Linked DNA regions of Homo sapiens: regions 2, 3, 4, 5, 6 and 7 are each linked to region 1. Evidence: promoter capture Hi-C in 16 types of primary human blood cells and fetal thymus (Javierre and others, 2016). All regions are on one chromosome and are shown on one strand. The core of a region is centred on a gene start or on the middle of the fragment in contact, and the rest is flanking DNA. Distances in the headings are between cores, read along the strand shown.

Region 1 (4,422 bases), core at 1,129-3,628:
ATTCTAAGGGAGGAGGACATGGAATATTGGTGTGGTTTTGTTTATTTTTTATTTTTTTGGACCTATGTGAAACATTTTTACAGTAAAACCCACAAATTTTAAATGTTCAAGAGAATTGTTCATATACTTGTATAGTCAGTATCCCTACTCAGATAAGAACATTTTAGAACATTTTGGAACATTTCTAATATCCTAGAAAATTTCCTCACGTTTCCCTATATTTTCAAAATGAACAAGAATACAGGATAGTCAAAAGCAATAGGTAAATCCTAAAGAATCCAAAACGAGGGTAATGACATCCTTCGATAGCTCAGCTGGTAGAGCGGAGGACTGTAGGGGTTTGAATGTGGTCATCCTTAGGTCGCTGGTTCGAATCCGGCTCGGAGGAGTTCCATTTTTAAAAGTGTCTCTTCTGGGCCTGAAATAAGGAAACTTGGAGAACGCATGTGCAGCTTGCTTATTCAGGAATTTGTAAGACGCTCAGAGAAGGAAAATAATCCACCCTGAAAATTGCTAACAAGGGTTGCTTCACAGACAGTTGAGTGGGACTCGATTTTCACCAAGTTGAGAAGGGATCATGAGGAATGTGGGGAACGGGAAGAACACGCTGCCCCAAGGCTTCATTTTTTTTTTTTTGTCGGTTTCACGGTCCTTTAGCACCCCCTGTTATATTGATACTTGGTGTGAATAAACATTTTATTAATGATAATTTCAAATATATACAAAGTAGAGAAAATAGCTAATAGCTACCATTAGCCACCACACTGGCACAACTTACCGACACTCTTGCATCCATCATGCCCCTCCCCTAGCTCCAGATCTTTTAAAGCCACCCCAACACGTGTTCTCATTTCATTAACTGTACTGTGTTTTGAAGATGTCAGTGTTTATAATTAAATAGCAGTAGACGGAGTTTATCGCTCTCATCGTACCCCGCTCCTCTTCAAAAAAGGAGCAGTGGACACCTACCTGACAGAAAGTTCTCTTCAATAAAGTTAATGAAACAGGCGTGTTTGAATTCGAGAAGTCTATTATTAGACTTTTAGACACTCCATGAAAGAGTGCAGGGCCCTGTTACTTTAGAAATATACTTGGGGACTGGCAAAAACTGTCATCTCTGATTTTAATAGTGGACACATTTACTCCCTGCTTCCATTCTCTGGGCTACTCTGCGCTCTTGGAGCGAGATGGGAAATTTTGTCAGGCCGCAGCAAGGACGGATTTATGTTGATAGTCATCAAACTCGCCCCGGGCTGCTTCCAGAAAGCTAACCGGATTACTTGTACGCGGTTCCCAGCACTGTCCTTTGCAGTCAGCTTGTCGCTGGCGCCGATGGGAAGAACTGAAACGCCTCAAGGGTGGGGACGGCGCCCCCTGCTGGTCGCGCCCTCGGGCGACGATAAGAGACTGAGGACCCGAGCCCGCGCGGGGAAAACTGCCCTGAGCTTGGCTTAGGGATGGTCCGCAGGCCGCCTGGTGGGAGCAGGACCGCCGTGGCCCGGTCCGTTCTGCGGTTGCGTAGGTCATAGAAGGAAAAGTGGTTTGTGATCTGATAGGGAATCTGAGGACAGACCCAGGGAGAGCAGAAATAAGCGCGCCGCCGGGGGGTCGCCAGAATTGGAGGCTTGTGCGCCTCTGACAAGTATTTGCAACATAAGTATGCATATGGATAATGTATCAATACACACGTGTAATAGATGCCAAACAAATTCTTCAAATAATTGTCACACATTTAAATTTTCAGACATTCACAAAATCAAATGTAAAATATTAAACTGAAAGTTCACAACTTAAATTTTCAAAAATTAAATCTAATTAAATTTCCAAAGTTGAACTGTTTTCAAAATTAAATTTTAAAATATTCAAAATTCCGAGGTAAATTTCCAGAAATAGTTAAAACCTCAAAACTCAAAATTTTTAAATGAAATTTATAAACTTTAAAAGGTGAGTCATTCCTCAGCTGGAATCGCACCCGGGGCCCTTGAATAAAATGCTATTTTGATCGCTAGAACACATAGAAACTTCTCTAAAATTGTTCTGCAAAATTCCCTAAAAAGCCGGCATCAACCCGCCTTTTAGCGTCTCGACAAGGCGTTCTATAGGGTAGGTTATATTTGGGGATCTGCCTTTTCTGGTTCTGCCTGTCCTGAGTTGGAGATCTGACCGGGAATCTGAGCCTAACCCAAGTTTCCCATCCCGCTTCCACGCTCTGAATCAGGCTTCCGACCTGACACACCACTTCCTCCCTCTCCCCTCGGCCTTCCCCTGGACCCGACTGTATTGCCCAATCATTTCCTTTCATTTGTCATCACCACCTTGGACCCGCCCCCTCGTCTCAGGCCGTCGCACGCGTTTTGCGTCAGTTGGCAAGGCACTTTACGGCCGTCGTGCCGCTCGTGTCAGTCAACATGGAGGCAGAGGAATCGGAGAAGGCCGCAACGGAGCAAGAGCCGCTGGAAGGGACAGAACAGACACTAGATGCGGAGGAGGAGCAGGAGGAATCCGAAGAAGCGGCCTGTGGCAGCAAGAAACGGGTAGTGCCAGGTATTGTGTACCTGGGCCATATCCCGCCGCGCTTCCGGCCCCTGCACGTCCGCAACCTTCTCAGCGCCTATGGCGAGGTCGGACGCGTCTTCTTTCAGGCTGAGGGTAAGTATGCAGGCCCTGACGGTGACAGGAGGAGGTTGTCGCTCGCTGGCGGGGTGCAAGCATGCATGTCCTGTTGCTTCGCTGCGCGAGGCTGAGGCACGAGTTGCTGGATTTTGGGGGTGGGGAGTGCGGTGCTTGGCTCCTGGCTGGTGAATCAGTCTGTGAGGATGCTGGGGTGGGCGGGCGGAGGGGATATGGGGAGAGTGGGTAGCGCAGTGTGTCTGGTGGTTCTTTAGTTCTCGGATTGTTACTATTTGTGTTCTTATCCCGGCTCTGTTCACCTCTCTTTCCGGACCTGTTTACTGGTTTGTTACATGAATACAACCTGAGTAAAAGTCTCGTCAGCTTTTCTACAAAACTGAACATAACTCTTTAGCATTGCTGCCTAGGTCAAGAAACTATTTGATCAACCGCCCCTCTTCTTTCCACCCTCAATTTTACATTGAGGCTGAGGACTTGTGCCGGTTTTAAGCAGCGTTCAGGGCTGGCCAGATTAAGGAGTGGACAATTAAGGAAAGAATTGAGTTAGCTAGAGGAAAGGGTGCGATTTACAGTTCCCTTCCTCCTGGGCAAAAACTCTTCAGGTGGGACTCCCACTGGCAGATGTGAAGAACGTTGCGGGCAGTGGGAGGTGCTTTTGAGTGAGTGCTGCATAGGCGTCCTGGACGGGTCTTTGTCTTTGGCGCGCAGACCGGTTCGTGAGACGCAAGAAGAAGGCAGCAGCAGCTGCCGGAGGAAAAAAGCGGTCCTACACCAAGGACTACACCGAGGGATGGGTGGAGTTCCGTGACAAGCGCATAGCCAAGCGCGTGGCGGCCAGTCTACACAACACGCCTATGGGTGCCCGCAGGCGCAGCCCCTTCCGTTATGATCTTTGGAACCTCAAGGTGAGAAGATAGATCTTTCTGCCACACCTCTCACCCTCCCTTCTCCCCAACTCTGGCCCAAGTATCCCCATGGCCTCTCATTGGCCTTGTCCCCTTGTCTCATCTTTCTCCCTAATCTGCACTATCCTGATCTTTTCTTCTTTTCTGCCCACAGTACTTGCACCGTTTCACCTGGTCCCACCTCAGCGAGCACCTCGCCTTTGAGCGCCAGGTGCGCAGGCAGCGCTTGAGAGCGGAGGTTGCTCAAGCCAAGCGTGAGACCGACTTCTATCTTCAAAGTGTGGAACGGGGACAACGCTTTCTTGCGGCCGATGGGGACCCTGCTCGCCCAGATGGCTCCTGGACATTTGCCCAGCGTCCTACTGAGCAGGAACTGAGGGCCCGTAAAGCAGCACGGCCAGGGGGACGTGAACGGGCTCGCCTGGCAACTGCCCAGGACAAGGCCCGCTCCAACAAAGGGCTCCTGGCCAGGATCTTTGGAGCCCCGCCACCCTCAGAGAGCATGGAGGGACCTTCCCTTGTCAGGGACTCCTGAGGGCCTGGGTGGCCCCTTCCATTTCCTGGCCCTGCTCTGCTTCCTGTCTACCTCATACTAGAATGATCGTGACTACCCGGGCAGACATTTTACTGTGTTTCTCAGACCAAGTGTCTACTGATGGCCCAAACATGGAGTTTTGTGGGCTTCCACTGTCCCCACTCCGAACTCCTGTATGTGCCTGGCTGAGTCACCTAATTCATACTGTCATACTAGCATAATTATGACTATTGCATATGCTTGTTTTGTTTGACTCTTGGCTGCCTACGTCTGTAGGGTCCCCTGAAAATCCCACTTCCTGCCCCCAGAAAGGGCCTTTATTTCCAACTAGGAGGATAATGCCTAGTCCAG
Region 2 (4,422 bases), core at 765-3,264, 510 kb before region 1:
CTCCGCCTCCCAGGTTCAAGCGATTCTCCTGTCTCAGCTTCCCGAGTAGCTGGAATTACAGGTGCATGCCACCACACCCAGCTAATTTTTTTTTTTTGAGATGAAGTCTTGCTCTTGTCTCCCATGCTGGAGTGTGATGGCACGATCTTAGCTCACTGCAACCTACGCCTCCCGGGTTCAAGCGATTCTCCTGCCTCAGCCTCTAATGTAGCTGGGATTACAGTTGCCTGCTATCACGCCCGGCTAATTTTTGTATTTTTAGTAAAGACGGGGTTTCACCATGTTGGCCAGGCTGGTCTCGAACCCCTGATCTCAGGTGATCTGCCTTCCTCGGCCGCCCAAAGTGCTGGGATTACAAGCGTGAGCCACTGAGCCGGGCCAATTTTTGCATTTTACATAGATGAATTATATGGTATGCTAATTATATCTTACCAAAAATTGAAAAAAAGGAATAGTACTATCAGCCCCAATGTGCCCATCATCAATATTCTACATGTTTCCAATGTTATTGTATCTGTTTGCCTACAGTCGAGGCCCTGATATCCTGTTTGATTTTCTTGAATTGCCAAAATTTGCATACATGCTTACAAAAATAATGCCTGTTGAATTTGCTAGATATGTAAAGGTTTGGAGCAAATCAGGTGTATTAAATTTATTAATATTGTTTGAAATGTCTAAGGCAATAATTCCCAAACTTCGTTGAGGGAGAAGGAAAGCTTTTAAAATCCCATTGCCCAGGTGGCATCCCATACTGTTACTGGGAATTATGCATTGGGATGGATCCTTTAACCGAGGAGATTATTATAGCCGGAGCTCTGAACCAGCAATCTCAGTTCTTGTGATAGTGAGCAAAGAACTACAAACTAACACCAAAATGCAAGCTTAAAGCAAAGTTTATTGAAGCACAATAATACACTCTGAGGGACAGCGGGCTTATTTCTGCGAAGTGAACTCAGCACTTCTTTACAGAGCTCAAGGTGCTTTTATGGGGTTTGTGGGGAGGAGTTGAGGTTTGGGCTGTATCTGAGTGACAGGATGATGTTATTTGATTGAAGTGTATAGCTATACAATCTAAAATTAAACTGTGCATGGTCTTACCTATAATTTGTTAAGAAAAGCCTCCCAGGGATGGGGGGGCAAAACTGTATGTAAATTCTATTATAATGATGGCATGATGAACTTGGGGTGAACTTGAAGACAGGCTTTTGTGTTGTTGGGCATGTGCCACCTTAGGGAATTTCCACCTGTACCCTCCTTTCTCTTTCTCCAGGATATTTTGGCCACAGACTTTATCATAAACTCCATCCCTTAGGGTGGCATTAGGGTAGTCTTGGGCCTGAATTTAGGTGGGCCAGTGGCTGTCTTAGTGACAGCCTTTCCGCTCTCTTCTGTCATCCCCTCCCAACTGCTAATGTCTAACTACCTAACAATTACCCATTAAATCAGTGTGTCTGGGGTTAGGAGCAGGCCTCAATATGTTTAATCATTCTCCAGATAATCCCAATACTGTAAAGTTTGTGAAACACTTGTCAGATAATTCAATTATGAAGGCTGTGGAAGGTGTTTCAGTAGGATCTAATTGGTTAATGTTATGACTTAATTAATTTGAATCAAAAAACAAAATGAAAAAGCTTTATATTTCTAAGTCAAATAAGACATAAGTTGGTCTAAGGTTGAGATAAAATTTTTAAATGTATGATTGAATTTTGAAAATCATAAATATTTAAATATCTAAAGTTCAGATCAGAACATTGCGAAGCTACTTTCCCCAATCAACAACACCCCTTCAGGATTTAAAAACCAAGGGGGACACTGGATCACCTAGTGTTTCACAAGCAGGTACCTTCTGCTGTAGGAGAGAGAGAACTAAAGTTCTGAAAGACCTGTTGCTTTTCACCAGGAAGTTTTACTGGGCATCTCCTGAGCCTAGGCAATAGCTGTAGGGTGACTTCTGGAGCCATCCCCGTTTCCCCGCCCCCCAAAAGAAGCGGAGATTTAACGGGGACGTGCGGCCAGAGCTGGGGAAATGGGCCCGCGAGCCAGGCCGGCGCTTCTCCTCCTGATGCTTTTGCAGACCGCGGTCCTGCAGGGGCGCTTGCTGCGTGAGTCCGAGGGCTGCGGGCGAACTAGGGGCGCGGCGGGGGTGGAAAAATCGAAACTAGCTTTTTCTTTGCGCTTGGGAGTTTGCTAACTTTGGAGGACCTGCTCAACCCTATCCGCAAGCCCCTCTCCCTACTTTCTGCGTCCAGACCCCGTGAGGGAGTGCCTACCACTGAACTGCAGATAGGGGTCCCTCGCCCCAGGACCTGCCCCCTCCCCCGGCTGTCCCGGCTCTGCGGAGTGACTTTTGGAACCGCCCACTCCCTTCCCCCAACTAGAATGCTTTTAAATAAATCTCGTAGTTCCTCACTTGAGCTGAGCTAAGCCTGGGGCTCCTTGAACCTGGAACTCGGGTTTATTTCCAATGTCAGCTGTGCAGTTTTTTCCCCAGTCATCTCCAAACAGGAAGTTCTTCCCTGAGTGCTTGCCGAGAAGGCTGAGCAAACCCACAGCAGGATCCGCACGGGGTTTCCACCTCAGAACGAATGCGTTGGGCGGTGGGGGCGCGAAAGAGTGGCGTTGGGGATCTGAATTCTTCACCATTCCACCCACTTTTGGTGAGACCTGGGGTGGAGGTCTCTAGGGTGGGAGGCTCCTGAGAGAGGCCTACCTCGGGCCTTTCCCCACTCTTGGCAATTGTTCTTTTGCCTGGAAAATTAAGTATATGTTAGTTTTGAACGTTTGAACTGAACAATTCTCTTTTCGGCTAGGCTTTATTGATTTGCAATGTGCTGTGTAATTAAGAGGCCTCTCTACAAAGTACTGATAATGAACATGTAAGCAATGCACTCACTTCTAAGTTACATTCATATCTGATCTTATTTGATTTTCACTAGGCATAGGGAGGTAGGAGCTAATAATACGTTTATTTTACTAGAAGTTAACTGGAATTCAGATTATATAACTCTTTTCAGGTTACAAAGAACATAAATAATCTGGTTTTCTGATGTTATTTCAAGTACTACAGCTGCTTCTAATCTTAGTTGACAGTGATTTTGCCCTGTAGTGTAGCACAGTGTTCTGTGGGTCACACGCCGGCCTCAGCACAGCACTTTGAGTTTTGGTACTACGTGTATCCACATTTTACACATGACAAGAATGAGGCATGGCACGGCCTGCTTCCTGGCAAATTTATTCAATGGTACACTGGGCTTTGGTGGCAGAGCTCATGTCTCCACTTCATAGCTATGATTCTTAAACATCACACTGCATTAGAGGTTGAATAATAAAATTTCATGTTGAGCAGAAATATTCATTGTTTACAAGTGTAAATGAGTCCCAGCCATGTGTTGCACTGTTCAAGCCCCAAGGGAGAGAGCAGGGAAACAAGTCTTTACCCTTTGATATTTTGCATTCTAGTGGGAGAGATGACAATAAGCAAATGAGCAGAAAGATATACAACATCAGGAAATCATGGGTGTTGTGAGAAGCAGAGAAGTCAGGGCAAGTCACTCTGGGGCTGACACTTGAGCAGAGACATGAAGGAAATAAGAATGATATTGACTGGGAGCAGTATTTCCCAGGCAAACTGAGTGGGCCTGGCAAGTTGGATTAAAAAGCGGGTTTTCTCAGCACTACTCATGTGTGTGTGTGTGGGGGGGGGGGGCGGCGTGGGGGTGGGAAGGGGGACTACCATCTGCATGTAGGATGTCTAGCAGTATCCTGTCCTCCCTACTCACTAGGTGCTAGGAGCACTCCCCCAGTCTTGACAACCAAAAATGTCTCTAAACTTTGCCACATGTCACCTAGTAGACAAACTCCTGGTTAAGAAGCTCGGGTTGAAAAAAATAAACAAGTAGTGCTGGGGAGTAGAGGCCAAGAAGTAGGTAATGGGCTCAGAAGAGGAGCCACAAACAAGGTTGTGCAGGCGCCTGTAGGCTGTGGTGTGAATTCTAGCCAAGGAGTAACAGTGATCTGTCACAGGCTTTTAAAAGATTGCTCTGGCTGCTATGTGGAAAGCAGAATGAAGGGAGCAACAGTAAAAGCAGGGAGCCCAGCCAGGAAGCTGTTACACAGTCCAGGCAAGAGGTAGTGGAGTGGGCTGGGTGGGAACAGAAAAGGGAGTGACAAACCATTGTCTCCTGAATATATTCTGAAGGAAGTTGCTGAAGGATTCTATGTTGTGTGAGAGAAAGAGAAGAATTGGCTGGGTGTAGTAGCTCATGCCAAGGAGGAGGCCAAGGAGAGCAGATTCCTGAGCTCAGGAGTTCAAGACCAGCCTGGGCAACACAGCAAAACCCCTTCTCTACAAAAAATACAAAAATTAGCTGGGTGTGGTGGCATGCACCTGTGATCCTAGCTACTCGGGAGGCTGAGGTGGAG
Region 3 (4,422 bases), core at 1,199-3,698, 500 kb after region 1:
TCAAATGAGTTGAAAAACCATATCCACACAAAAACCTTCACATCAATGTTTATAGCAGCTTTATTTGGATTTGCTAAAACATAAACAATCAAGATGTACTTCAATAGGTGAATGGATATATTTAATGCAAACTATGGCACAATGGATGGACTATTAATTCATGATAAAAAGAAAGGAGCTATCAAGACAGGAAAAGACATGGAGGAATCTTAAAAGCATACTGCTAAGTGAAAGAAGCCAATCTGAAAAGGCCACATACTGTATATATGATTCCAACTATATAACGTAGTGAAAAAGGTAAAAATATGTAAACAGCAAAAAAGAGCAGTCATTGCTAAGAGGGAGGGAGGGAGGGAAGGATGAAGAGGCGAAGCACAGGGAATGTTTAGAGTGGAGATACTATTATACATGATACAGTAATGATGGACACATGCCATTATACATTTATCAAAGAGGAAAGAGTTACAACATAATCCATAAGAGTTACAACAAAGAAAGTGAACCTAAAGTAAACTACAAATTTTAGTTAATATTAATGTATCAATATTGGTTCATCAGTTGTAACAAATGGACCACAATCGTATAAGATTTAATAATAAGAGAAGCTATAGGAAGGATAGGAGATATATGGGAACTCTTTGTACTTTCTCTTCAATTTTTCTGTAAATAAAAAACTGCCTAAAAATGTCTATTAATTTTTTAAAAGTAAAAAGAATGTAACCAGGAAAGAGCAGTAAAAACAAAACAAAAGGTAGAGGAAACATACTGGAGATTTAAAATCCAAGTAAAGGAAGGGAAGGAAGGAAGGAAGGAAGGGAGGGAGGGAGGAGAGGGAGGGAGGGAGAGAAAGAGAGAGAAAGAAAGAAAAAGAAAAAGGAACAAAAGAAAAGAAAAGAAAATTAGCCGAGTGTGGTGGCACACGCCTGTAGTCCCAGCTACTTGGGAGGCTGAGGCAGAGAATCACCTGAACCCAAGAGGCAGAGGTTGCAGTGAGCTGAGATTGCTCCACTCCACTCCAGCCTGGGCAAGAGAACAAGACTCTGTCTCAAAAAAAAAAAAAAAAAAAAAAAAAAAAAGGGCAGAGAACACAGAAATCAGAAAACTAGCAACAACGAAAAACAAGCTAATATCCCTAACCGAAATACAGGATTTAATGATGTAATAGAGTTCCCAAAACAAGGAATGGAAACAGAAACACACTAAAGCATATCTTTCAGACATTGCAGAACATTGAGGACAAGGAAATTATCCTGAAATAGATAAATAAAAGCTAACTGCAAATGTAGACTCCATAATTAGAATGACTTTGTACTTCTCAAAATGAATACTGGAAGCTAGAAGAAAATAGAGAACTCTCTCAAAATCCTGAAATAAATTTCAAAAGCCTGAAAAATATTTCCCAGACAAACATTCAATCAAGTTGCTGGAGAAGTATTGAAAAGTCTCATCGACCACGGTGAAACCCCGTCTCTACTAAAAATACAAAAAAAATTAGCCGGGCCTGGTGGCGGGCGCCTGTAGTCCCAGCTACTCGGGAGGCTGAGGCAGGAGAATGGCGTGAACCCGGGAGCCGGGGCTTGCAGTGAGCCGAGATCGCGCCACTGCACTCCAGCCTGAGCAACAGAGCAAGACTCCGTCTTAAATTAAAAAAAAAAAAAAAAAAAGTCTCATCTACAATGAACTCTTTCTCAGGAAGCTGCTTTACAATGTACTCCACCAAAATGTGAAGGTATAGTAAGACAGAAAATACATGAGAAATTGGGCATACAGCACCAGTGGCAGGGAAATAAAATGTATAGTACAATGGTGAAGGAAGACATCACGATGAAAACCCCATATCAAGTTTAGAAATCACTCAGTTTATTGTTTTGGCAAGGCTTTTATGGTTATTTGTGATATTTTTTTCTAAAAATAATGTTCAGGAAACAAAATAGGAAAGATAGGTAAATAATATTGCCAAACATAATTATATAAAGGGTGATTACTTATTCAATAAAAATTCTGATATAACTATATTTGAAGGAAAAATTGATCAGAAGAGTGTCTGTGGAGGTGTTTACGGTGAGGAAGAGAAGTGAATCTTCTATTTGTGTAATGGGAAATCAATGGAAAATACTAAGCTTAAAATTAATATGTAGCATATGTATTAGAGTACAATTTTGTCTCTGTAACAAAGACCCAAAAGAACCATAGCTTAAAAGAAGCATTACTGATCTCTCCTGTGACTGTCTGAGGGTGTAATCAATGCCAGGGTGATGCTTTGGCTTCATGGTGTTGGTTCCAGTCTTCTATGTCATGGCTCCTTCCTTCCTACAGTGTGCTGGGTCCAATCACTATTCCATGAAGCCTTCATTCTCAAAAGCAGATACATGAGGAAGAGATAAATAGAGGTTATTTCCTTCTCTTATGGACATAACCTGGAAGTTTTACATACATTTTCTCTCTTATGCCTTTACTTAGAAATTGGTCACGTGATGACGCTGACTGTCAAGGGAAGTCACTGTAATCTTTTCATGGGTGGCTATGAGCTCAGCTAATTTTCCATTTCTTGGAAAAAACAAAAATAATGATTGGACAACTAGCCATCTTTGCCATAGCATGATGACATGCAGGTAAAAACAACACAAAACGCCAAATGGCTGAAAATGTTTGCCTCTACTAAGAGGAATAAGATAGGAGAGACCACTGTTTCGCATACACATATTTTTTGAAGTAATTGAGCTTTTAAAACATGTATGGTTAACTTTGATTAAAAATTTTGTTAATAATAATTTTAAAAAGCTTTAAGAACCAAAGTATGGATAAATAATTCAGCCAGGCTAAAGTGAGAAAGGGAAAGAGCGTTCCATGAGGGAAAATCACTTGTTGGAAGAGGAAAACTAGATCTGTCTTGAGGCAAAAACCCAAATGGGACTGAGCATGGAAAACAACGGGTAAGGAAGTGGGTTGAGTTGAGGTTGAAGATTTCAGGCAGGTCAACGCAGCAAACACTGCAATATAAGGGCTCTTCCAAGGAAAAAAAAAGCGGATGATTCTTTGTGAATTCACAGAAACTAGCAAAGGTGGTATTCACTCAAGATGTTAGTGCAATCTAACGTAAAATATCCTGACATTGAGAGTGTGAAAATACAGCAGGGGTCCATTCCTGCAGGATTTCCCCTATGTTCCCTGTTGTTTAGCCTGTGATTGATTTGCGTGGGCTTCTGAAGAGAAACCGACTCCGGTGTGAACGGTTTTGGGAACCTCGGTCTCCTGCTGGCTCCCAGGTGCGCTATCCGACGCAGCGAGACGCGGTGAGCCTACAGAAGGGCTGACCAGGCTCACCTGACGCCCCAGGTCGACAGCAAACCCCGTGCGCCCCGTTGGCCCGGTCACGCCCGCAGCCTGCTCAGGCGCCTCCTGCCTCGGGACCAGGAAGCGGAAGAAAGGGAGAGACCGGCCCGGCAATTACGTTTCTATCATGTCTTGAACATTTGTGTGAGTCCCACGAAAGCTAAGCCCGTTTATTCCCCCTCGAAGCGTTTCCACTCAGTTCTTGATCATTCATGTGAAAACGAGCCATCTCCACGTCTCCCAAACGTCTTCAAACCGTTTCCTAAGTCTTGTAAGGCCGCCTGTGGGTTCCTATTACAAACTCTGAAATAAAATACTCGGGAAACGTGGGTTATCAAGACGAGGTGGCCGAGTGGTTAAGGCGATGGACTGCTAATCCATTGTGCTCTGCACGCGTGGGTTCGAATCCCACCCTCGTCGGGGGAGGTCTTTTAATACGAAGAGGAGGAAACAACACCCAAGTCCAGCCAACTTCCCTTTCAACTCTCCTGGAATTCAGGTCCCTGGCGTTGGAGAGGAAAAAGGAGCTCTTGTAATTTTGTATCATCAGTATAACGATGGTGTTGCTGGGTTTTTTAACTTTATGGTTGATGGGGTATTGATTGTCAATATTGTGCGCGTGATCAGTTTAATGAGTACTCTTCTGGTGGGCTTTCTACCTGATGACTGCAAAAACGCCTTCGAGCCTGAGAAAGGGGAGAGGGCAATAGAGAGGAGAGGAAGGTGACGGTGGGGCTAGAAAGAGAGAGAGATGAAGCTGCCAAAAAGGGGGAAAAACTTGAGGTGTGGTTATCCCAGCCGCTTCTTTTAGAAATCATTACTACTGTGAACATTAAAATAAATTCATCAAAAAGATAAGCAGAAAAAAACAAAAACAAAACAGCACGACAAATACACCAACACAGAAATTCAATTACTTAGATTCTCAAGACAAATCGAGGGACCAACATTGAAGAAACGTGTAGCACTGACGACATGGCCACAAGATTTTTGTTTTGTTTTGTTTTGTTAAAAAAAAAAAAAAGCAAGCAAGCAAGCCGGGCGCAGTGGCTCAAGCCTGTAATCCCAGAACTTTGGGAGGCCGAGGCG
Region 4 (4,422 bases), core at 1,400-3,899, 490 kb before region 1:
AATGAATCAGAAAATGGATATTTTTAAATAAGTTAGGTTGCTGAAAAAGAGAAATGCAGTGAAGCCTTAGATGGGAGTGAGATAAATCAGCCATTGGCTAGAGGAGTTTCTTGCCCAAGACCAGTGGTGATGTCCCCAAATGCCTGGAAACAACTGTTGTGACATTATAAAGCCCCCATAGTCTAAGTTGGGTGAGACTATACTTATGCATTTTCTCACCTGTAATATAGCTTAAAAGTATTTCTACTCTGGGATTTCTTTACATTTTACTAAAGCGCAATTATATACTTAAAACTGATAGTGTATGCTGGGCTGCTAGTCATTCTCAACCCTGGCCAATTATCAGAATTGTTTGTTGAATATATAGGTGCCATATATAGGTGCATACACACACACACACACACACATACACACACACACACACACACACACACCATATTTCATTCCTCATATCGAATATTCTGAGAGAGTTAGTTTGTGGAGGGTAGTTCTGGACAATTTATATTTTCATAACACCTCTGGTTATTTTTTTTTAAGTAGAGATGAAGACTTGCTATGTTGCCCAAAATGGTCTTGAACTCCTGAGCTCAAGCGATTCTCCCAACTCAGCCTCCTGAAGTGCTGGGATTACAGCCGTGAGCCACTGCATTAACCTCTGATTAATATCATAGATTAACCTCTGATTAATATCATAGATTTATTTGTTTGAATGCTTCATGTATCCTCTCAACCACAACTTGTTTGCAGAGTTTTAATCTGAAGGGCTTAGGTCTCTTGTTCAATGAATGAGTTTGATCTGATGGGTGAGAGGAAGGTGAAATGGAAAGCGAACGAGAAGCCATACAGATTAGGCGAGTGAGCCTAATCTCTCCCTAACCATAAGATTGAGTATGCCTGAATTCTTCGCAGAGTGGAAGAATCCATTTTAAATATATATATCTACATGTACAGATCCTTTAAATATTTGTTCTGACATTCATTGTTTTTGAGTCACTGTCATTGAGAAAAGTTTAGAAAGGAGATATTAGGAGCAGGAAATAGAAAGTAAATAAAATATCAAAATAAAAATGGGGTTTTATAAATGATATAATAGGCAAAATAAAGGAAAGGCATCCTAGACCTCTGGTTAAAATGAAGATGGCACTTGGCGAGATGTGTTCCAGGGTAGTTCACATGATGTATGTTTTCAGAGAATTGTCATATTGCATATGCTGCTATATTTTTTATTTTCATGAATTAAAAGGCATGTTGAGATTTCAGAGTTTTACTTATGATCTCAGACTCTGCATTTTTTCTCTGTAATGTTTGACATTTCTTCCTAGCTAAGTCTCTAGTTATAAGGTCTGTGTTGTGGCATGTGGACAGTGAGTGGAAGAACCTAAGAACTCAATTTGGGGCAGAAGAATGTAATCAATTATTTCAGAAGTGATACAAACAATATGACATGTAGAGCATTCTGGCCTTTCCTGGGTCTTTTTTCTCCATTCCTGGATTTCTTCTCTTCATGTGAGCAAGTCTGAGGTTACTATATAATGTCTCTCACAGGCCACAGCCCCATTCTAAATATTCCCAATAGAAATTCATTTATTAACCAGAGAGTGGTGGGTGGGGTTGTTTTTGTTTTTTAAACAAAAGTGGATCTTATGGGCATTCTGGAAAGCTCCCGCAGGAAGCTAAGAATAAAATTTTGAATTGAGAAGTCCCTTTCTTCAAACCACATTCAGACCCAATTCTGCTATTCTATTTATTTTTCAAGGGGATTAGCCTTATTTTAACACCAATAATCTTATCACAAAAACCTCCCAGAGGAAGACCCTGTAGATTTTGTAATGACCTTAATCAAGTATTAGCCCTACACTTCAATTAATCCCCAACTGTACAAAACGAATGTTCTTTTCTCTAAAGCTGTAGCAAGTTGAAAGGGGATTAAAAACGGAGGGAAGGGAAGAGTGTTTGGAATTTCAGGCACAGCAAACAGGCACAGCAGACCAGGAAGAGCGTCCCGGGAAAACATATTATCCAGACTTAAGTTTATATTCCCTGTCTCTCTCAGACTTTTGCAGAAAAATGAGTCATTCAACAAATATTTGAATCGAGATAGGGAAAGTGACGAGGAAGAAGTTTGCACTTATGAGGTTTTAATTTGCAATTATTTGGCTACCTTTTTGCCTTCCCAAAACATAGGGTCTTTAGGAGTGAAACTTCATAGCCAAACTTATACCTTGTCCAGCACAGAGAAGGCCATCAAAATGCCTGGTTTAAATAAAAATATTAAAATGATTGGGAGGGTAAATCCCTTGACCTATAAATCTGACCTCCTTTAAACATTATTTGTATGTTCCCCAATAAACTATTCCGTAATTTATTAGTTAGCAAGTGGAAATAAAAAGAAATGTGGAATGGGGCTATGCTTAGCGTCATTAAGCTGACAGGAATACAGCGCATTCAACTTGCAAACACCCTTCCACTCCCACAAAGAGCAAGCTGTCACTGGCCAATCAAAACAATGAACCATAATGAAACAGTTTTTCTTGCTCCACCCACTTGGTGACCAAATTTGAAAAAAAAAAAAAACCGCGCCAACTCATGTTGTTTTCAATCAGGTCCGCCAAGTTTGTATTTAAGGAACTGTTTCAGTTCATACCTTCCACTGCGATAGGAATCATGTCTGGTCGCGGCAAAGGCGGAAAAGGCTTGGGGAAGGGTGGTGCTAAGCGCCATCGTAAGGTGCTCCGGGATAACATCCAGGGCATTACAAAACCGGCTATTCGCCGTTTGGCTCGGCGCGGTGGCGTCAAGCGCATTTCCGGTCTTATCTATGAGGAGACTCGAGGTGTGCTTAAGGTTTTCTTAGAGAACGTTATTCGAGACGCCGTCACCTATACGGAGCACGCCAAGCGCAAAACTGTCACAGCCATGGATGTAGTATATGCCCTAAAACGTCAGGGGCGCACTCTGTATGGCTTCGGCGGCTGAATCTAAGAATACGCGGTCTCCTGAGAACTTCAAAAAACAAAAACAAAAAAACCCAAAGGCCCTTTTCAGGGCCGCTCACAAAGTCGTTTAAAGAGCTGAAATGCGTTGCGAGAATGAGTTTGGATGACAGAAATAACCGTGACATCCTGCATAAGAATGAATTGTGTTTGCCATGACCGGCCACACTGTGACAAAATTTCAAAGCATAAAGTAGGCATAGAGAGGTAAGCGCTAATAAAGTGATTGGCTCCACAAAAAGCATTTTGCTGGGCGCAGTGGCTCACGACTGTAATCCCAGCACTTTGGGAGGCCAAAGCTAGTGTATCACTTGAGATCAAGAATCCGAGACCAGCCTGGCCAAAATGGTGAAACCCCCTCTACCAAAAAAAATACAAAACTTAGCCGGGCGTGGTGGTCTGCACCTGTAGGCCCAGCTAGCCCGGAAGCAGAGATTGCAGTGAGCCGAGATCGCGCCACTCCCCTCCAGCCTGGGAGACAGAGAGAGACTCCTCAAAAAAAAAAAAAAAAAAAAAAAAAAAAATTATGTATTTTAGAGCATTCTAAGAATGGTACTTTGGACTTAACCGAAGGGCTGGAGGCGCGTGTTGAACAAAGGTTATCACCTTTTGGCTCATGCGGCACACAGCTATGTAAATAAAGCATCTTTAGGGACAAGCTCTCATTTGCGGAGGGTTCTATGGCTGTTGTCCTATTGGCCAAAACAAAGTGGTCTAAGTCCGGGCGCGGTGGCTCACGCCTGTATTCCCAGCAGTTTGGTAGGCCAAGGTGGGTGGATCACGAGGTCTGGCGTTCAAGACCAGCCTGGCCAAGATGGTGAAACCCCGTCTACTAAAAATACAAAAATTAGCCGGGCGTGGTGGCGGGCACCTGTAATCCCAGCTACGTGGGAGGCTGAGCCAGAGAACTGCTTGAACCCAGGAGGCAGAGGTTGCAGTGAACCGAGATTGTGCCACTGCACTCTAGCCTGGGTGACAGAGCGAGGCTCCATCCAAAACAAAACAAAACAAAAAAGTGGTCTAATAATCCCCAGAACTGGAGGAAGAACCATAACTTATTGATTTTGTTTTTAACCTTATGTATGCCAGGCATGCTAGCCTTGTATACATACAAGGCTAGAGGAGCAAAGGTGCAGGAAGCCATCTTGAGGGAGTCCCATATTATTGAGAGACCGGCCAGCTGCTGGGAGAGGCTAGTTGTTCATCCTCACTGTATGTGATGAGAATCTGGTGACAGTCCATTGCTGGGCACAGCATTTAGGCAAAATGGCTCTCTGCTATGTCAGGCAAGTGAGGCATATTTTTGCACAATCCTAGTAATTCCGAACTCATTGGGAAACAATGGCAATTACATCCAAGCAAGGAAAGGTCTGTGGTTGATTTTATCTATACAAATTTAAAACATAATGTTTACAACCTTTCATTATAG
Region 5 (4,422 bases), core at 803-3,302, 460 kb before region 1:
CTGTACCCTGGCCCTTCACATCCTTTCCATATAATATATCTTCAGTAAATACAGGGAAAAAAACCCAGAATGATTATGTTGACAGCAAAACATGTTTGTGCAGAAACGGAGTAGTCACTATCTAAGCCACAGAGACTTAGGAGTGTATTCCTGAGTTATGTATCATTTTAACCATCACTGGATCTTAAATCCCAGTTGCTAAATTGAAGGGAGATACATGACTCTTTTTAGGGCTTTGCTCTCTGATACAGTAGCCATTAGCCACATGTGATATTTTAAATTTAAATAATTAAGTCAAAAATTCAGTTTCCTCAGTCTCACCACATTTCAGGTTGCTGGTGTCTACTGTATTGGATACACAGACATAGAACATGTCTATCATCACAGAAAATTCTATTGCATTGCACTGGGATAGGTACTTTTTGTGCCCTTGGGCTGATAAGTTCAAGTGCACTTAACTAGCTTCCTCCAAGTGGAATCAGAGGATAAATTTACCATACAAAATACAGGATACCCAATTATATTTGAATTTCAAACAGGCAACAAATAATTGCTTAAGTATGCCCCTCACTGCACACCCAAATATTACATGAGACATTCTATACATATATATATATATATATATATATATATATATATATATATATATATATATATATTTGAAATTCAGATTTAACTGGACATTTGGTATTTTTAATGTGCCAAATCTAGCAACCCTATCTGAAGAGCAAAACTGGAGTGTCTAGTCTGGATAGGTCCTTTTACACCACAGGGAGTTATTTGAGGAATTGAGAAGGGCTGTGGTACCTGTAAAGAACTAACTCATTATGAAGAAAAGGATCTGTAAGTTTTTCTGTATGTGTAAGGAAGGCCAAGAAGGTGGTTTCCAGATATATTTACTTTTTCTTCTCTCTCTCTTAGGTTGCAAAAGCTTCTCATTTCAGAGAGATGCCAGGATCCTAAGTGCCTGCCAAACTTACCAATTCTAAGGAATAAGTGGATGGATGGCATTACTGATTCCTACATTACTGATTGATTCTGCATCCGCAAATTGTTTTATTAAAAACATTCTACATCATGTGTGGGGAGATAAGGAGGATAAAATGAAGAGAAAGAATATTATTGAGGGGAAGTTCTTCTGAATACAAAATGTGTTTAATTTTTTAAATAAGTATTACATTCACAGGGTTCAAACTATTTGAAGTAAAGAGATTATATATAAAGAATCCATCCCTCAACTTACCCAGGTGGTCACTTTTCTTTTTCTTGTGTATCTGCCCAGTATTCATTCCTGCTGATATCAGTCAATAATGAATGATACGTGTTTTCTTCACTTTTTTCATTCTTGTCAGGTAGCAGACTGTGTAGACTTTTCTGCACTTGCCCTTTTCATAACAATCTATCTTGGAGAACTTTCCCTATGAGAACATACAGAGCTTCCTGTACACAGTTGCATGTACTGCATTATGCAAATGCATTATATTTTATGTAACCTGTCCACTGTTGGTAGGCACTTGAGTTGTTTTAGTCTTTTGCTATCAAACAGTTCTGGGATGATTAACCCTGATTTACTGCAAAATTGAAATTGCTCTGCTATTCTGCTGGAATGGTGGTAAGTGAACTGAAAATTCCAGTCACTCTTGGGCTAGACTCAACGTTCTTAAAAACTATGTGGCCATCACCAAATTAGTTATTTTGAACCTTAATTTCTTCACCTCTAAAATGGAGGTAATACTTACCTTAAGTGGCTATGAGAATGAAGATCATGTGTATGAATTGTTGGTGCTCTAAAGAACAGCACAAATAAAATTATTTTCAAATTTAATTTTAATTGAACTATGTGTAATTTCTTAATTTTGAAATAATTTTATTTGTAATGTGCATAATCTTATTTAATGTATAATGTATACATTGTAATAGAAACAGATTTCCCAAATTCCAGCCTGGCATGAGGTAATAAAAGGTAATGCAAAGGGAGAGGAAAGCATGTGTCATTAATTTTCTGCCTAGGACACCTCCCTGGTTAAATTGCCATTTCCTTTCTTCCTTGCATAATGATTAGGAAACACATCCTCCTGACCTGCCTGCCCTCTTTTGCCTACTTTTTCATCTGCAGTCAAGGTCTGGTTTTAAGACTGACTGTTACTTTTACAAATCTGTGTGTATTGGTGGCTAAGGGCCTGTATGGTCCACTGCTGTATTCCCAGGTCCCAGCATGGTGCCTGACGCTGCCTGGCAAATAGTAGTCACCCGAGAAATGGCTGATGAATTCATGAGGCCTACTCTGTATGGAAATTTCAATTCTGGCCCCGAATTTTCAGGAGCTGGCAAGAGAGCCACCTTAATATCATAGGCTGAGTTGGAAGAAGGGAACACCCAATTTATTCTTAAGAAGTACTTTGCCCAGGTACTGTGGCTTAGGCCAGTAATCCTAGCATTTGGGGAAGCCAAGTTGGGCAGATGGCTTGAACCCAGGATTTCGAGATCAGCCTGGACAACATGGAGAAACCCCATCTCTACAAAATATGTAAAATTTAACTGCTTGGTGGGCCTGCACTTCTGGTCCCAGCTACTCCAGGGCTAGGGTGGGAGGATTGTTTGATCCCTGGAGGTCAAGGCTGCAGTGAGCCATGATCACAGCAATGCGCTCCAGCTCTGGGCAACAGAGCGAGACCCTGTCTCAAAAAAAACAAAAATGCCTATACAATAAATCTATAAAAAGTGGGTTTTGTGTGTCTATACACACACACACACACACACACCTGCATAGACACTCAGGTGTTCTGGAAAGACACAGGAATCTGAAGCCAAAATACTTGTGATTTTTTTTCAGCTCTGCCACTCACCAAATGTCTGATGGGATTAGTTACCTGCCATCTCAGAATTTCTCTTCTGTAAAATAAGGTAATAGTACCTCCCAGAGTTATGAAAAACTATCAAATGAGATGGCAGATGAGAAAACACTATATTCCTTGTAAAACCTGACAAATATGTGCAAGATTATATAAAGACTGTCTTCTGTCCATTTTCAAATGTGGAAAAGTGAAAGCAGGACAGGATGTTGGGATTTCTGTCAGAGATTTGCTGGCTTCCACCTGCAGAAATTGAAGTAATTGGGGTTCTTACACCTAAGTACTAACTGAGTCTGGTTGCAGTTTGCCCCCATGGCTACATGAAGCTTTTAGAAGAGTCAGCATGGTAGACATGGAATGTTGAATGGTGGTGGAGTGTACCCACACACCTCCCACCAAGTCAGCTCCAGGTTCAGAAGCAGCAGCCCCAGTGGAAGGCATGCGTGTTTGTAACTCAGCTGAGCCACCTTTCAAGAAGCAGAGGCTTTCCAAACAGGGATGCCCCCTGCTTTTGGTTCAACTTGACTTCCTACCTTCAGTGAGGACATGGAGAATTCATCTAGACTGGGTACCTGAGCAAACTTGGCAGAGCAAAGAGAAATGTGGAAGGCCCTAGGTAGACAGGCCCTGTGGAAGGAAAGAATGAAAGAGGACAGAAAGAAACTCCCATTTTCTTTAGCACAGTCCCTTCAGATTAAGGATGAAGAGGCTGGGGTTCTGAATTGGTTGGCCTTAGGTAATGGTCACAAAAACAAGTCAATGGCTTTTCCACATCCGTACATTGAGATATATTTCTGCCCTTGGTATTCATTTTCTCTGACCTCCAATTAAAGATCTATGCGTCATTTTAAAGCCTTCCTTCCTTTCTACTCTGTGGTCAGCGTAACATTGGTGGTTTGAAACTGGCCATAATAGCAGCATTTACATCATGGGAACTAGCATATGTTACATCAGGGTTTTTTTGTTTTGTTTCTGGAGAGCCAGTAAACATACATCGTCACACCACTTAAATATTCTCTGCTTAAATATTCTCTGCTCCTTCCTGGTAAAGATAGCCTCATCTCTCTCTCCCCACTCCCCAACTCCATCCAGCACGTGCACATTGGATCACTCTATTGTGCTGTTTTCCTACCCAGAAGGGCCCTGTCTCAAATGACCCCTACGCTTCTGGTCTGATTTAAGTTCCATACTCTTTCCTATGAGGTGTACCCACTGCATATATTTCTATGTTGTTTCTCACCTTCCCTGTTTTCATGTCTGCTCTCCAAATTTTATGAGGAAGCCTAGAACACTCTTTTTGGAGATACTCATTCGCTTAAATATCACTTCAGTGAGGCCCTCCATTGACCATTTTCCCACTCCCAGAGGGGCAGGGAGGCCTTCTGAGAAAGTGAACATGGTCTGGTGGATAGTGATGCTGGGAACGTGAACTGTCAGCAACAGCATAGCTAGGAATGCAGTGAGCAAAGGCACTGTGAAGACACAAGCAGAGCTCTTCAACCAATGACCCCAGGGACTTTCTCTGGGTTGCCTGGCAATGAACTGGGAACAATGGCTGCTTCTTTCCCTG
Region 6 (4,422 bases), core at 969-3,468, 440 kb before region 1:
GCCACGCATGTTTTCAATAAATGAGTTGTAATCATTTCATTCAAAAGGGGGGTTATTGGACTTAGCACCACAGTACCAATCTTTAATGTTACGTTAGTACTGCAGAGGAAATAACTTGGAAGTTACAGGGAATAACAATAGGTACTAGAAATTGAGTGCTATGGGTACGTATTAGATCGTTAGCTCATTTAGTATCACATAACACTAGCATAAACTGAAAGTATTGTAAATGTACAGCTCTTTGGTTTCCGTGTGCAGATTTCCAAGTTGATCGTGATGTTGATCCGGGACTCGGTGTGGTGACGGCCCGCCCTGAGCACGAAAGTGCACGCTCTTGACAACTTCCTTATGTTTGGAGCTTTCTCCACCACCACCCCCGCCCATTTTCTTGTAAAATTTTTACCATGCAGATATGTAATAACTGCAAGTAAAGGCTGAAGACAATGTGAGCTGAACACGGAACTATTACAAAGGTTTCTGATTTGTTTTGTAATTGGGCCAGTTTCTGTCTGAAGCTCTTAAGCGAGTGGGGCAGGGAAAGGCGGATCCTAGGCGCTGAGGTGCAGGAAAAAGAAGCAGCTTCTGAGACACCTTAAAATTCTTTTGCTAAACCGTCTTTTTCTGAAAGTCATTTAATTTATAGGTTTTTTTTTTTTTTTTTTTTTTTTTTTTTGGCAGCTTTCAGGTTAAAAGTCCTCCGGGTAACGGCAGAAACCAAATAGTCAATCATTAAGGTGCCTGACTGCACGTAGGCAATAGTTATCGCAGGACTGAAGCCCCCTTTGCAGTACAATTTATCCTTTCCTAGATGCCCCTGAGTACGGAGGACTGGAGGAGGTAGAAAGGGAAAGAAAACCTCCTTCTGGCAGGATGTAGCTTCTGCTGCACAAGGTAGGATGATGACAAAAGGTTTTCACTGCTGGGGAATGGATGATTGCGGGAGAAAAAGAATCTCGGAAAAGAGTCGGGAGGGAACTAGGAGGGAGTGGCCAGAAGGAAAGGAACAAATACTTGAGACGTGAAAAATGTGAGATGGATGAGGCTAGGTTTGGAGTCAAATGTTGGCTGAGAGGGAGAATTTAAGTGATGGATGGATGATCATTGTCTAAAAGAGGAATGAATTTAGAAGTTTGTCCTCATGCCCTCATAAACAAACACGAAATGATGGATTATGGGATACATTTTCCATAACATGGCAAGCGTGGTACTTGGACGGATAAATAAAAGCCTGAGTAATATTTTCTAAATTCTTAAAAGTAAGAAAGAGGGTCTAAGAAAGTAAACTCAGAGCCAGGGACTTGGCCCATGTTAAACCCCAAGCACTACAGCTGGCTTTTACTCAACCCGTGGAAACTGACCAGGGTATAGAGCCTGATATATCTTCTTAGGTGAAGGTGAGACACCAGACCTAAATCTGTCATCTCAAGAGTAGAAGGATGAACCACACATACAAACCCATCACAGATGAATGCAAATAAAAAAGTCAGCTCCGAAGTTGGGTTCTGAGCAGTGTAGATTCTACTGCTAAGGCTTGGACTACAAGCCATCGATGCTTACTTGTTCCTGGCATTCATACCATAGGGATTCAAACACCCAAGCTGAGAATTTAATTTAGGCATATCCCAGGCTGGTTTTGTGCCCCTGAGCACCCGGTAGAAACAAATACAAGTCATCTCTGGAAAAGAAGCTTCATTTTACACCTCAACAAATTGCCACAGCTAAAATATCCCCCCAAAAATGCACAAGGAGCTTCACAATCTAAATTAAACATCATGAAACTAGAAGTATGACTAATGAAAACAAAAGCAACAGACAATGGGAGCTGGGCGTGGTGGCTAATGCCTGTAATCCCAGCACTTCGGGAGGCTGAGGCTGGAGGATTGCTTGAGGCCAAAAGTTTGAGATCCTGTCTCTGAAAAAAAAAAAAAAAAAAAAAAGCAACAGACAATGGAAATGAAAAGGGAGAATTAACAAGATACAGACTTGAGGCCAGGCACGGTGGTTCATGCCTGTAATCCCAGCACTTTGGGAAGTTGAGGCAGGCGGATCACAAGGTCAGGAGTTCGAGACCAGTCTGGCCAACATAGTGAAACCCCGTCTCTACTAAAAGTACACAAAAAATTAGCCAGTGTGGTGGTGTGCGCCTTTAATCCCAGCTACTCAGGAGGATGAGGCAGGAGAATCGCGTGAACCCGGGAGGTGGAGTTTGCAGTGAGCCAAGATCGTGCCACTGCACTCCACCCTGGGCCACAGAATGAGACTCTGTCTCAAAAAAAAAAAAAAACAGACTCGAATTGACTAGTGTCTTTTTGAAAAAAGAAAAAGAGGCCAGGCACAGTGGCTCACGCCTGTAATCCCAGCACTTTGGGAGGCTGAGGCAGGCGGATCACCTGAGCTCAGGAGTTCGAGACCAGCCTGGCCAATATGGTGAAACCCCATCTCTACTAAAAATACAAAAATCATCCAGGCATGGTGGCATGCACCTGTAATCTCAACTACTCAGGAGGCTGAGGCAGGAGAATCGCTTCAACCCAGGAGGCAGAGGTTGCATTGAGCCAAGATCACGCAATTGTCCTCCAGTCTGGGCAACAAGAGTGAAACTCCATCTGAAGGAAAAAAAAAGAAACAAAAAGTCTTATAAATATATTGAGGGACTAAGGAAATACCAAAAGTGACCACATAGATTTGAAAAAAGAACCTAATAGAAATTCTAGAAAATAAACATGTAATTATAAGACAAATTGAAATGAAAAGCTTACTGCATGTGTTTAACAGCAGCCAATTGGACCTACCGGTAGAAATTTAATAAACTATGTAATCAGATCTTAAGGAATTATCTGAAATGCAGAGATAAAAATGCAAAAGTGAGTTTAAGAAACCTGGAATTAGGGCTGGGCAAGGTGACTCATGCTTGTAATCCCAGCACTTTCAGAGGCCAAGGCAGGAGGATTGCTTGAGCCCAGGAGTTGGAGACCAGCCTGAATAATATGGCAAACCCCCGACTCTACTGAAAATACAAAAAATTAGCCAGGCATGGTGGTGCGTGCTTGTGGTCCCAGCTACTCAGGAGGCTGAGGTGAGAGAATCACTTGAGCTAGGGAAATCAAGGCTGCAGAGAGCCATGATCACACCACTGCACTCCAGCCTGGGCAATGAGAGTGAGACCTTGTCTCAAATAATAAATAAATAAATGAAAAGAGACCTAGAATTAGTAGTAAAATATGATCTGACGTTGACCTAATCACAGTACCAGAAGAAACAATCAGGGAGAATGATGCAAATGTGAGATTTAAAAGATCATGGCCAATAATTTTCTAGAATGGATGGATTACTAATAATTAAAAATAATATAAGAAAATAAAAATTGAAACCTAATGTATTGCTCATCAAAGCAAGCCTAGGTTAACAAAGTAAATATTTAAACAGAAAAATGATACAAAAAAAGGGAGTCACTATGTGTGCTGTGAATTAATTAAGCTCTCCAAATTTTTACAGATGTAATACTGATTTTCAAAAGATTGTGACTTCTGTTACATATTGACATATGACCTCACACTAAAGCACTGTTTGAAATTCTGCATGTAGGAGGATAATTGGATAATTGGTTATTTACATGAATTTTGTGTCTAGCTAACCTTATCAAATTCTATTAATCCTAATCAATAGTCGACTGACTTGATTTTAATTGCATATAGTACTATTAGCAAATAAAAATGTTCGATATTCTCTCCCATAACTATTTATTGTTTGCTTTAATCATCTTACTGTGCTAGCTACCATCACAAACAATATGTCACATTAGACATGCTACCAGGTATTGTCTTTTTCCTCCTGTTCATAGAAATGACTTCGGTGGTTGATGATTTATAATTGCTTTTGTGTGTATGTGCATGGATGTGTATATGTAGTCTTCATTGTGTTAATGTAGTTTTTGGTTTTTGTTTGTTGTTGTTGTTGTTTTGAGACAGAGTTTTATCTGTTGCCCAGGCTGGAGCGCAGTGGCCGGATCTCTGCTCACTGCAGCCTCCACTTCCCAGCCTCCCGCATTCATCTCAGCCACCTGAATACCTGAGATTACAGGCGCACACCACCGCACTCGGCTAATTTTTTTGTATTTTTAGTAGAGACAAGGTTTTGTTATGCTGGCCAGGTTAGTCTCAAACTCCTGACCTCAAGTGATCTGCCCACCATGGGGTCCCAAAGTGCTGGGATTACAGGTGTGAGCCACCGTGCCGAGCCCGGTAGTTTCCTTCTAATCTTCTTTTAAGATTTTTTATTAGGTATGATTTATGAATTTTATTCGATCACTTTGACTTCTGAAGAAATCATATGCTTTTTCTTTTTTAACCTGTTGCCATGAAGTATAGATAGATTTCTTTGTGTTGATTCATGCTTTTATTCCTAGTCCAAATCTTATTTGGT
Region 7 (4,422 bases), core at 1,128-3,627, 370 kb before region 1:
TCTATGAAGCCCCATAGTATAACTCCCTGACATTCTTTACTCAATCAAATTGGGGCTCAGAAACAATACCCCAAAATGAAGGCCAAAGAAGCAACCTCAGAAGCAAAATTTTTCTGTGACTTTCTCCTGCCCTCTTGTCTCTCAGTCCCATTCTCCCCTGAGGCTAGACATAGAAACTAGAATTCCGGTTTCCCAAGGTGGCTTATGACAACCAGAATCCTTTTTCCCCAAAGCCAACCACAAAAACTAAAAATATTACTCTAACTTCCCTTCCAACTTTTCGTGTAAAAACTGGACACAGAGAAATTATTTGATCCACCTTGTTTAATTGCAGGTCATAAGACCCCATTCCAGAGATGGAGCTGTCCCATACCCAATACCCAGAAGGAAGGAATGCATGTTCAAAGAGGTGAGGGATGAAATGAAAATTCTAAACCCCTTTGACAGAATAATGGACCCTCCTTTGGCTAAAAGACCCCAAAAGTTTAAGTTCCCAGGCATGACAGGATGGAGGCTGCACATCCTGTTTGTTTCTACCCCTCTTCCCCTTTCTAATCACTGCTAGATTTTCTCAAAGTCCGATTTGAGGGAATAATACACCGGAAAGCCCTTTTACTTACTTTATCTGGCCTCTTCCACCCTCCTCCATGGTGGTCCAGACAAGACAGATATTAAGGACCATAGAGTTTCTTGATAAATGACTGCAGGCCCACAACTGGTTGTGACCAGTCTCCTGAGAATGCAGATCATGGACTTCTGCCCTACATTTCAGTTTTATATATAGGACCTAATTATAACTCATTTAAATGTTAAATCTTCACCCCAAAGTGATCATGGGACATATCTTACATACATGTAAACCTAATACACATCTGATTGGGTGTCCTTCATGAATATTCATAGCTCCTCCTATAACCTGTTGAATATGTATATTTCTCCAACCCAATCCTCAAAAATTCCTGTTTTATCCCTCCCTGCTTCCCTCCAAGTGCCTGTCTCTCAGCAAACCAAAGCTACCCTTCCCAGCCTGTCAGAATGGCCACCTTGCAGGCTGCAACTCTTTGAGAAATAAAGCTCCTTTGCAAATGTATGAACCTTCTCATTCTTCAGTTGACAGAGGCCAAGAAGAGTCTAGACAAACAGGCCTTGCTGGGTTTCTCCACTCGGTTTATTAACGTTTCATCATACCCTTTTTATCCAATCAAATTTCTACAAGGTTGTCCATATGTTGTTGAACCTAAGCATAGAATTGGACAATTTTTCCTGTATCTTTGTGTTTTCATCCTAAAGGCTCCCTTGAAGACGTTAATAAATTTGTGTAACTTTTCTCCAATTAATCTGCCTTTTGCAAGCTAATCTTACAGCAAAGCTTCAGAGCTCGCCTTGGCTCCTATATAATAATAAACACTTTAACTTTTTATTCTTTTTAGACTTCAAAGTAATTGACCTGATGTTCTCATCCGAGTTTTTCTTGGAGCTTATGTAGCTTCCAGGAATAGCAAATTATTTTCCGGACTTTCTTCTTTTCATGAAATGGCATTGTGCTTCCACAGTGATTTCTCTTCCCCTTTTTTTAAACACCAGAATTAGCAGTTGTAGAGGCTGTCCCTCAAAAATATATGATCGAGGGGAAAATATTCATATAACATTTCTTTTTTTGTTGTTTTGTTTTGTTTTTTTTTTTTCATTTTTGGGTCATGCTCTGTTGCCCAGACTGGGTTGCAGTCTCACAATTATGACTCACTGCAGCCTCAAATTCCTAGCCTCAAGCAATCCTCCTAACTCAGCCTCCTGGGTCACTGGCATTATCGGACTGAGCCACTGTGCCCGGCTAAAAGAATTTCAAATACTGTCCACTTACTGATATTTTGCTATGGAAAAATTCAAACATCAATAATTTTGCTAGTTGCCCACCTCTTCTTGCGTCATTGAGTAATGGCTTAACAAGCCCCCTTAGCTCTCTAACACAACTGTATAGACATATAGATGTAGATATAAATATAGATATTGATTTATTGTAAATAAAGTCCAGATGCTATAACTGGGTTCATAGAAATATATTGAATGTACTCATTGTTTCAAGGCCTATGCTGTCAAGATATGGTAAAGAATCAAGAAACAGAGAAGAGAAATGAAGAATCCTGGAACAGTGCTATCTACAAAGAATAATGCAAGCCACGGCCAGATGCGGTGGCTCATGCTTGTAATCCCAGCACTTTGGGAGGCCAAGGCAGGTGGATCACCTGAGGTCAGGAGTTCAAGATCAGCCTGGCCAAAATGGTGAAACTCCCCCCATCTCCACTAAAAATACCAAAACTACCTGGGTGTGGTGGCTGGTGCCTGTAATCCCAGCTACTCAGGAGGCTGAGGCAGGAAAATCGCTGGAACCGGAGAGGCAGAGGTTGCAGTAAGCTAAGACGGCAGCACTGCACTGCAGCCTGGGTGACAGAGCAAGACTCTGCCTCAAAAAAAAAATAAAAATAAAAAAGAATAATGCAAGCCACATATGTAATTTTGAATTTTCCAGTAAGCACATTTTAAAAATTAATAAGCAGGTAAAAGAATTTTAATAATTATTGTATTTAAAACAAAATACAAAATAATTATTTCAAAATATAGTCAATATAAAAACATTATTAATGCAATATTTCACATTCTTTTTTAAATCTTAAGTCTTCTAAATATGAGGGACATCCTATTCAATTTGATATTACATTTTTGTTGGAAATAAATGGAATTTCATTTTGATTTCATAAATTTCAGTGCTGAAAAATAAAATTCATATATCTGATTGTTTAAAACATATCTAACATTTTCCAATAACTGAAGTATCAGCCTTTGAATTAAAATAATGAAAAGTAAAATAAAAATTCAGGCCGGGCACAGTGGCTCACGGCTATAATCCCAGCACTTTGGGAGGCCGAGGTGGATGGATTACTTAAGGTCAGGAAATCGAGACCAGCCTAGCCAACATGATGAAACCCCGTTTCTACTAAAAATACCTCCACCCCACCCCCCCCAAAAAAATAAGCCGGGCATGGTGACAAGCACCTGTAACTACAGCTACTCTGGAGACTGAGGCAGGAGAATCGCTTAAACTCGGGAGGTGGAGCTAACAGTGAGCTGAGATCACCCCACTGCACTCCATCCTGAGTGACAGAGCAAGACTCCTTCTCAAAAAAAAAAGAAAGTCAGTCCTCAGCAGCAACAACCACATTTCAAATGCTCAGTAGCCACAACTGGTTTCTGACTGTTTTATCACATAACACAGATCCTATGGGAAATTGTGTTCAGGTATGGAAATAGTGATGGAAATTACTGATTAATACAAGTGAGCTGCTAAGTTCTTATGTAATCATGTAAATTTTGCACTGACTTCTAAAATAAAGCTTTACACATATTTAGAGATGAGGATTATGAAAGGAACTGAAGGTAGGTTCCAATGGCAAAACACCGGATTGACAGATTTAAGAACACTGGGGAGGAAATAGAACTATGGGGCATAAAGATGGAATTTCCTTAATGGTTCTCACTGACTGTGACCTAAAGTTTATCTTTTGATTTTGGAAACATTTTTTAGATGTAGATATTAACATTCTAATAATAGAAATGAAAAAACTAAAATGAAAATGAGAAAACAGAAGATAATATCAATAAACAGGTCTTGGGCCTCAGAAGATGAGATGTAGGGAGTGTGGAGAGGAAAAGCACAGGGGGTGCATAGCTCTCATTAACAAACGGCCCAGCCCACAAATACGTAATCATATTATACAAAAGGATTTCAGTTCTTCCCTTGCTTCCTATGAAACAATTTTGCCAACATACCTAACCGTTTTACCGTGATTTAAAGTGTACAGAATTTTCTTTTTCTGAAAAGGAGAGAAGCAAGGGACTCATATATATTTCAGATGTGAGATTGAAACGCACGACAATGTGTAATTTCAGTCAAGACTTGCCCACGAGTCCTAAGATAATTCAAATTTGCAAAATAGACACTAACTTGAAAGGTGCAATTGTATCAATCCTGTGGTTAGCAGAATTTTGATGAATGCCCTAAAATAGGGCAGGTTTAACAGAATTCAGGGAATGAGCAGGAATGCACAAAGCATCCTTTGTCTCCTCTCCACTCCAGCTTGCAGACATCCGCGGGCATTTGCGGGCAGTGATAAATTTGGTTTAGCCGTTTCCCCTCCCTGGAGGACGGGGGCTCCAGCATATTCATGATGTCAATCGCCTTGGACTACATGCCAGCGTCATTGCGAACCTGCTACACTTTACAAAATAGCTTTCCAATGAGAAAGAAAACCTACTGGGAAAGAAAAACAAAAAGAAACTAGACCTTGCAACGGGCACGCACGCGCACTATCCCTCTCTGAAATATTTATAGTACGCTTACACAAACGCGAACTTGTAAATCAAAAC

What was found. Contacts are between HindIII fragments. The CHiCAGO score rates a contact against its expected background, and 5 or more counts as called.
Region 2: a contact is called between the fragment with the promoter of HFE here and the fragment with the promoter of ABT1 in region 1, in 1 of 17 cell types (total CD4 T cells). The highest score is 5.2, in total CD4 T cells.
Region 3: a contact is called between a fragment that was not itself captured here and the fragment with the promoter of ABT1 in region 1, in 7 of 17 cell types (erythroblasts, M2 macrophages, M0 macrophages and 4 more). The highest score is 10.2, in erythroblasts.
Region 4: the fragment with the promoter of H4C3 here is called in contact with the fragment with the promoter of ABT1 in region 1 in 1 of 17 cell types (neutrophils); the score reaches 7.9 in neutrophils.
Region 5: a contact is called between a fragment that was not itself captured here and the fragment with the promoter of ABT1 in region 1, in 1 of 17 cell types (neutrophils). The highest score is 7.1, in neutrophils.
Region 6: a contact is called between a fragment that was not itself captured here and the fragment with the promoter of ABT1 in region 1, in 4 of 17 cell types (neutrophils, naive B cells, total B cells and 1 more). The highest score is 9.2, in neutrophils.
Region 7: a fragment that was not itself captured here is called in contact with the fragment with the promoter of ABT1 in region 1 in 1 of 17 cell types (neutrophils); the score reaches 5.8 in neutrophils.

Annotation. Positions count from the first base shown.
Region 1 is chr6:26,594,575-26,598,996 of GRCh38, forward strand. It overlaps ABT1 (activator of basal transcription 1), which reads left to right and starts at 2,379. Exons shown (of 3, transcript NM_013375.4): 1 at 2,379-2,649; 2 at 3,340-3,536; 3 at 3,691-4,422. The coding sequence starts at 2,409. The coding sequence ends at 4,071. TRY-GTA6-1 (tRNA-Tyr (anticodon GTA) 6-1) reads left to right here and starts at 300; the gene lies at 300-388. RefSeq lists enhancers at 1,261-1,410, 1,511-1,670, 2,228-2,667. The HindIII fragment of the contact is 8,276 bases long and covers 1-4,422 here.
Region 2 is chr6:26,085,415-26,089,836 of GRCh38, forward strand. HFE (homeostatic iron regulator) reads left to right here and starts at 2,015. Exons shown (of 6, transcript NM_000410.4): 1 at 2,015-2,102. The coding sequence starts at 2,027. It also overlaps HFE-AS1. The HindIII fragment of the contact is 3,203 bases long and covers 1,630-4,422 here.
Region 3 is chr6:27,093,635-27,098,056 of GRCh38, forward strand. TRS-GCT1-1 (tRNA-Ser (anticodon GCT) 1-1) reads left to right here and starts at 3,672; the gene lies at 3,672-3,753. The HindIII fragment of the contact is 661 bases long and covers 2,119-2,779 here.
Region 4 is chr6:26,101,284-26,105,705 of GRCh38, forward strand. H4C3 (H4 clustered histone 3) reads left to right here and starts at 2,650. Exons shown (of 1, transcript NM_003542.4): 1 at 2,650-3,054. The coding sequence starts at 2,665. The coding sequence ends at 2,976. RefSeq lists enhancers at 2,188-2,297, 2,322-3,012. The HindIII fragment of the contact is 10,429 bases long and covers 1-4,422 here.
Region 5 is chr6:26,137,133-26,141,554 of GRCh38, forward strand. No RefSeq gene overlaps it. Among named protein-coding and RNA genes, the nearest start is that of H2AC6, 15 kb to the left of the region's middle. The HindIII fragment of the contact is 2,247 bases long and covers 930-3,176 here.
Region 6 is chr6:26,158,600-26,163,021 of GRCh38, forward strand. It overlaps H2BC6-AS1 (H2BC6 antisense RNA 1), which reads right to left. Exons shown (of 3, transcript NR_186648.1): 3 at 1,675-2,606. It overlaps H2BC5 (H2B clustered histone 5), which reads left to right. Exons shown (of 1, transcript NM_021063.4): 1 at 1-8. Among named protein-coding and RNA genes, the nearest start is that of H2BC5, 2.7 kb to the left of the region's middle. RefSeq lists a silencer at 902-1,196 and an enhancer at 1,972-2,723. The HindIII fragment of the contact is 1,067 bases long and covers 1,686-2,752 here.
Region 7 is chr6:26,219,641-26,224,062 of GRCh38, forward strand. No RefSeq gene overlaps it. Among named protein-coding and RNA genes, the nearest start is that of H3C6, 3.3 kb to the right of the region's middle. The HindIII fragment of the contact is 2,020 bases long and covers 1,368-3,387 here.